Linked DNA regions of Homo sapiens: region 2 is linked to region 1. Evidence: promoter capture Hi-C in 16 types of primary human blood cells and fetal thymus (Javierre and others, 2016). All regions are on one chromosome and are shown on one strand. Each heading gives the region's core, a stretch centred on a gene start or on the middle of the fragment in contact. The rest is flanking DNA. Distances are from core to core; before and after follow the strand shown.

Region 1 (3,360 bases), core at 309-2,808:
ACTGACCGACACCTCCACAAATGACCCAACCATAGGACAGTCCTACCTTATTCCAGAGCTTTTATTCCACAAATGAGGACACTGATATCGAGACAGGTGGATCTCCTCCTTCTGAAGGACAGCTGCTAACGGTAGTCAGATGCAACCCAGCTCTGCTGGTGCCAGGGATTGGGGTGGTTTTCTGATGGCAGAGGCAGTCCCTCAGGAGGTGACAAAGCTCCTTTCCTTTCTCTTAGCAAGTGTGGGTGGCTGGCAGCTGAAGCAGGCCTTGGGCAAGGTCCTTCAGTCTGGTTTACTCATCTCAAACTCAGCCAGAGTTGAAGCCCAGCCAGGTCCTTGGAGGCCTCTAGATTTCCTCGTAGATTTTGTAATAGAAGATGTCCTAACAGAAACACAGGACTGAATAAATGTAGATACCTTAGAAAGTCATTTATTTAAAAAAAATAGCTGGGCATGGTGTCATACACCTGTAGTCCCAGCTGCTCAGGAGGCTGAGGCTGGAGGATTGCTTGAGCCCAGGAGTTTGAGGTTGCAGTGAGCTGTGATTGCACCACTGCACTCCAGCCTGGGTGACAGAGGGAGAATTTGTCTCCAGAAAAAGAAAAAAAAAAAAAAAAGAAAGAAAGTCATTTGTAGTATATTTTCTTTGGGAAAATACATTGAGTTCAAAAAGAATTTTCCAAGCTCAACCAATGTATCAATAAATTGGAGACTACTTACAACTCACTTCATTCCACTGAACCAGTATGGATTTCATATTTATATATGCAAAGTAGTACAATAGTTATTTGGTGGATGCAAAAAGAATGGTCCCATGCTCAAGACATCCGCAATAATCCTGGAGAGATGATACAAAGATATATTAAAAACTTAATAATCATATAAGGTAATGTCTGATGACATGCTCGGATGAGTGGAAGAGAAAATGGGCCACTGAAGAATGGAGGTAGTCAGACGTGGTTGAACGCTGCGGCTCCTAAGTCAAATGACCTGCGTGAAACCGCAGCTGCTCCACTTCCTAGTCGTATGGCAAGTTTCTTAAAAGTTCTCTAAGGCGCTGAGAACAGCTCTGGGCATTTTTGGTGCCCCAAAAATGTTAGCCATTATTATTACCTCTCAGTCTGTGCTTGAACCACCACTTCAAGAATGGGCAGGGTGTGAGTAGAGAGGCGGGAGTGGGTTTTGGAGCAGGGTGACAGAATCATAATGAATTGTCCTCGCGAAAAGCTCCACGAACTACTTTTCTAACTTTGTTGGCAGCTACCAAGTGTGGGCGGCAGGCGGCCATCCTCTTGGCCGCCTGAGATCCCAGCGCCTGTCCCCAGGGGGCGCTGCCACCCAGCTGCCGCCGCCCGGCCCAGCGCGCGTCCCCGCCGCCCACCCGCGCGTGCGCGCCGCCCAGGTGAAGAGGCGGCGGCCAGGGCCGCGGCTGGGGCGGGCTCCTCAGTGGGCCGGGAGGGGCGGAGCCGGGAGGCCCGGGCGGGGCGGAGCCGGGACGAGCCCCAGGCTGGAGGCGGGACCAGCCGCTGCCGTCTCCGTCTCGGTGTCCCGGCCCCTACAGCGCCCGGCAGCCGCGGCGGGAGGAGCGGAAACTGTCGGGTGCGTCCCGTTCGGAGCCGCGCCGGCCGAGAAGGCGCCGAGGAGCAGCGAGGCGGCCTCTGTCCGGCCCGGACCCGCCGAGCGGCGTGCGCGCCCCCTCCCCGTAGCCTCGCGGCGCGGCCTCGCCCCGGCCCCTCCCGAGCTCATCGCGGGCCCACGGAGCGGCCCCGGAGGCCCGAGCGCGCCCACCTGAGCCCCCGCGCTGGCGCCATGGCGGAGCAGGAGAGCCTGGAATTCGGCAAGGCAGACTTCGTGCTGATGGACACCGTCTCCATGCCCGAGTTCATGGCCAACCTCAGGCTCAGGTGAGGGCGGAGCGGCCGCGCGCAGGGGCGCGAGGCTGCGCTTTCCCGAGAGGGGGCGCCTCGGGGCGCGGCCGGATCCGGGGTGTCGGGAGCGCCCAAGCTCCAGGGATGGAGGCGCGGCCGGGCTGCGGTGTCCGGGGGTCTGCCAAGCTCCGCGGCTGCGCTTTCCCGAGAGCGGACGCCCCTGGGGTGCGGCCGCTTTGGGGTGCGGGGGGCGTGTCGAGCTCAAGGGCCGCGCTTCCCTGAGAGGGGAGCCCTGGGCGCTGTCCGGGGTTTAGGTGCAGAGGGTGTGCCGCGCGGGAGGGCGCGCTTCCCCGCGCCAGGTGAGGGATGTGGGCGGGCCGGTGACCTCATGGAAACTGAAGGGAAATAACTTGAACGAGAGTTGCGGTGGCCCCGAAGGCCCTAGGAGGACTGGAGGATTATTTTGGAGAGAGGCTGGCGTCTCATCCCGGCTTTACACTTGCTTCTTTTCTTTCTTTCTTCGCCCTTCTTTTTTTTTTCCTCCTGGCGTAGTTCCATCCTGTCATTCAGGATGCTATGGAGTGATCCCTGAGCTGTCTGTTCCGGGACACTGGCTATTTTTTTAGTTACTCTCTAAACGTAATTAGACACGTTTCCAGACATCGAAGAGACTGCTGTACTTGCCAGTGCCAAGATAAACTGTCTGAATTTGACAAGACGTTCATGGTTTTGGTTTTTTTCAAGGAGTTAGTGGATGGAGCTCTTGTGTTATTAACATCCTTGAGAACGTAGTCACAACTCAACGCCCCAAAATGGGCTTCCAAGATGTGGATTTGTTTTAGAAAGCCCTTTACATGCGATTATTTCACCCTTGATAGAGTAATATGTAAACAGTTTTAAAGTAGTTTGACTTAAACATTAAAGTAAGTGGAATTTCAAAATAGCTGAGTTTTGGTGTGCGTGTGTATGTTTCCCTGCAAGCTTTGGCTGCATTTCTTCTAAGGTTTATAGCTAAACATCATTCCTTAAGCTTATAAAGTGAAAGTCATAATCTAGGCTTGGGTGCTTAACCCTAATTTCATTATTAACTACCCCTGTCAATCCAGTTGACAGGGGTCAATCAGGTTGATTACATACCAGCATAATGATAGGATGTTACATTTCTGATCAAGGTTTGGATGTACAACTTTTATAGAAATCACCCCAAATATTAATCAAAATGATATACCTCTACATCAGCTATAACCAATACCCATTATCATAGTGATTAAGAGTCAGACTGTTGAGATTCAAATTCTAGTTCCACTGCATTCTTGCTGTGATCTTTGAGCAAGTTACTTAACCTCTCTGTGCCTCAGTCTTCCCGTCTGTAGGATTGGGGTTGTCCTGAGGGTTAAATGAATTATTAATAATATGTGTATACATACTTCAAAGATTAGTGCCTGGCAAATCCATATTAGTAAAACTGTTTTAAGTTTTCCCAAGTGCACAT
Region 2 (3,424 bases), core at 598-3,097, 400 kb after region 1:
AACTGCAGTCAAGGGAGTCCCTACCTGCCTCCCTGCATACCGAAGTGCAAGCTTCCCGCTCACCAAAGCCTGGACATCTTCTGGGCTAGAAAAAAAGACATACTTGGTCAATTGCTGCAGATGTTATGCTTCTAAAGGAAGGTTTGGGCAAATTTCTTTTTAACAGAATTCCATTGTAATAAAGACTCTGCCCACACAGACAATCAGCCCAACCCCTAAACCCATATGCCCATCACATTGCAAAAGCTAGGTTTTCTCCACTCTGGGTCACAGCTCAGCCTGAAGAGTAGAAAAACTCCAATGTTAGAAAGCTGAACTGAACCTACCAAAAGCAATAGACACAACAAGCAGAACTATAAGTTTAAGTCAAATCCCAGTGTAACAGGTATTATTAAAACATAGCCCTTATGTAATCCAAAGATCCAGAGAGAGTTCTTAGTCAATATTTCATTTATTCCCAAAAGAATTGAATAATTCTGTAGACTTCTTTATAAGTAGGTCTGTCATACTTTTGTTGTCCACTTTTTCAAACCTCTCCTTAACCCTTCCTTCCTCATTCTGGGTGGCTCAGTTGGCTGTTACTGGCTGATCTGTAAGCTATTTCCTGACCCTCTGTCCTGTGCTCTGCACCTATGAGGACAGAATATTTAAAGGATGAGGAGAATTCTCCAAGAGGAGCTGGGAAGGGGATTTCTAAAATGTCTGCCTGATTCTGAAAGACTAGCAAGCGAAAGTTTTCTGGACCACTTTTGATCCTCCCGCTCTACCTTAGCCAGCCCTAGAGGCCGCAGCTGCTGCTGTTTCTGTAACTGGCCAAACTCCCTGCTCAGGCCATCTCTGCCATGGCAAACAGACTTGCTGAAGGATCTGAGTTCTTGTAGTCCAGAGTTAAGGTGCACCTACGTGTTGAGCATGATTTTGCACAGCAACATGTACTTCAGAGATGTGATGGCCTTGGGGCTGTCGATGGAGTCATAACCCTCAAATGCCTCATAGAAGTATGAGTACGCAGTTTTCCAGTCCTTCTCTTCTGCTGCATGGATAATACCTGGGCATTGAAAAGAAAGGAATAAGAACATATAAAATAATAGAGCCATAAAAGATCAGAGCTGGGAGGCAGCTTAGACATCTACCTAAATGGGCACGGTGGCTCACACCTGTAAATCCACACTTTGGGAGGCTGAGATGGGAGGATCATGTGAGCCCAGGAGTTCGAGACAAGCCTGAGTAACATAGTAAGACCCCATCTCTTGAAAAAAAAAAAAATGCTGGGCACGGTTTCAGCTCACGCCTATAATCCCAGCACTTTGGGAGGCTGAGGCAGGCGGATCACCTGAGGTCAGGAGCTCAAGATCAGACTGACCAACATGGACAAATCCCATCTCTACTAAAATTACAAAAAAAATTAGCTGGGTGTGGTAGCGCATGCCTGTAATCCCTGCTACTCGGGAGGCTGAGGAAGGAGAATCACTTCAACCCAGGAAGCGGAGGTTGCGGTGAGCCGAGATTGCGCCACTGCACTCCAGCCTGGGCAACAAGGGCAAACTTCCGTCTCAAAAAAAAAAAGCCAGGTGCAGGGGTTCACTCCTGTAATCTCGGCACTTTTGAGAGGCTGAGGCAGGAGGATAGCTTGAGCCCAAGAGTTTGAGCCTAAGTAACAGAGTTAGATGTTGTCTCTTTATTTTTTTTTTTGAGCCGAGTCTCACTCTGTCACTGAGGCTGGAGTGCAATGGCGCAATCTCAGCTCACGGCAACCTCCGCCTCGTGGGTTCAAGCAATTCTCCTGCCTCAGCCTCCCAAGTAGCTGGGATTACAGGCACCCACTACCACGCCCGGCTAATTTTTTGTATTTTTAGTAGAGACTGGTTTCACCGTATGTTCGCCAGGCTAGTCTTGAACTCCTGACCTCAAGTGATCCACCCGCCTCGGCTTCCCAAAGTGCTGGGATTACAGGTGTGAGCCACCACACCCAGCCGACCTTGTCTCTTAAAAAAAAAAAAAAAAAAGAAAAAGGCCGGGCATGGTGGCTCATGCCTGTAATCCCAGCACTTTGGGAGGCAGAAGCAGGAGGGTCATCTGAGGTCAGGATTTCAAGACCAGCCTGGCCAACATGGTAAAAACCTGTCTCTACTAAAAATACTAAACCAGCCAGGCATGGTGGCGGGCACCTGTAATCCCAGCTACTTGGGAGGCTGAGGCAGGAGAATCTCTTGAACCCAGGAGGTGGAGGTTGCAGTGAGCTGAGATCACGCCACAGCACTCCAACTTGGGCGACAGAGTGAGACTCCGTCTTAAAAAAAAAAAAAAGAGGTCAGGCACAGTGGCTCACGTCTGTAAACTCTAACGTCTATAATCCCAGCACTTTGGGAGGCCAAGGCAGCCAGATCACTTGAGGGTCAGGAGATCGAGATCAGCTTGGCCAACAAGGCAAAACGCCATCTCTACTAAAAATACAAAAATTAGCCGGCCTTGGTGGTACATGCCTGTAATCCCAGCTACTCAGGTGGCTGAGGCAGGAGAATCACTTGAATCCAGGAGGTAGAGGTTGCAGTGAGCCGAGGTCACGTCACTGCACTCCAGCCTGGGCAACAGAGCAAGACACTGTCTCAAAAAAAAAAAAAAACTCTACGTCAACTCCACCAACCTACTGATGAGGTCAGGAAAGGATAAAGAACCTGCTCTGCCAGGCACAGTGGCTCACATCTGTAATCTCAACACTTTGGGAGGCCAAGGCAGGTGGATCACCTGAACCTAGGAGCTCAAGACCAGCCTAGGCAACAGGGTGAAACCCCATCTCTACAAAAAATTAGCCAGGCGTGGTGGCACATGCCTGTAGCCCCAGCTACTTACTCATGAGACTGAGGTAGGAGGATCACGTGAGCCTGGGAGGCTGATGATAGCGATGGGAGCTGTGATAGCAAAAATGCACTGCAGCATGGGTGAAAAAGTGAGACCGTCTAAAAAAAAAAAAACCTGCCCAAAGTCACCATAGTCAGCAATTTGACAGCTGAGATTAGAAGATGAGAATCCAAGTCTCTGACCTCCCAGCTCAATGTCATATTGCCAATATAAGTTCCCAAAGGAGTTAGAGACTCAACTTAAAAGGGACCTGAAAAACACATACTGTACCATCTTTCTTCCATGCTTCTCACCACCATTCCAGTCCTGCTATCTTTTGGAGCCACAGGAAAAGGCCATGTTTACCCTCCATGACATCACATTCACAGGTCAGGGAGTTGACCTAAACATCTCTAGACTGCCTGAATGACCTGTTCTAATAATATTAACTACTTTAAGATAGCTTTTCTAAGCCTGATAGTTTTATATTTATGCAACTGTCATGGGGCATGGGAGAGGGAATCCAACATCTTATATTTTCATTTCAAATATTTATCATTTGTGGATGTGCTTTTGCCTAAATGCA

What was found. The method cuts DNA at HindIII sites, captures the fragments that hold promoters and counts their contacts. A CHiCAGO score of 5 or more calls a contact.
Region 2: a fragment that was not itself captured here is called in contact with the fragment with the promoter of MYO1D in region 1 in 5 of 17 cell types (naive CD4 T cells, naive CD8 T cells, fetal thymus and 2 more); the score reaches 7.4 in naive CD4 T cells.

The regions. Positions count from the first base shown.
Region 1 is chr17:32,875,322-32,878,681 of GRCh38, reverse strand. It overlaps MYO1D (myosin ID), which reads left to right and starts at 1,558. Exons shown (of 22, transcript NM_015194.3): 1 at 1,558-1,904. The coding sequence starts at 1,810. It overlaps MYO1D-DT (MYO1D divergent transcript), which reads right to left and starts at 1,827. Exons shown (of 4, transcript NR_184086.1): 1 at 1,789-1,827; 2 at 721-838; 3 at 47-382. RefSeq lists silencers at 1,839-2,026, 1,233-2,222. The HindIII fragment of the contact is 7,647 bases long and covers 1-2,851 here.
Region 2 is chr17:32,471,425-32,474,848 of GRCh38, reverse strand. It overlaps PSMD11 (proteasome 26S subunit, non-ATPase 11), which reads right to left. Exons shown (of 14, transcript NM_002815.4): 7 at 904-1,048; 8 at 25-85. Among named protein-coding and RNA genes, the nearest start is that of CDK5R1, 14 kb to the left of the region's middle. The HindIII fragment of the contact is 3,588 bases long and covers 54-3,424 here.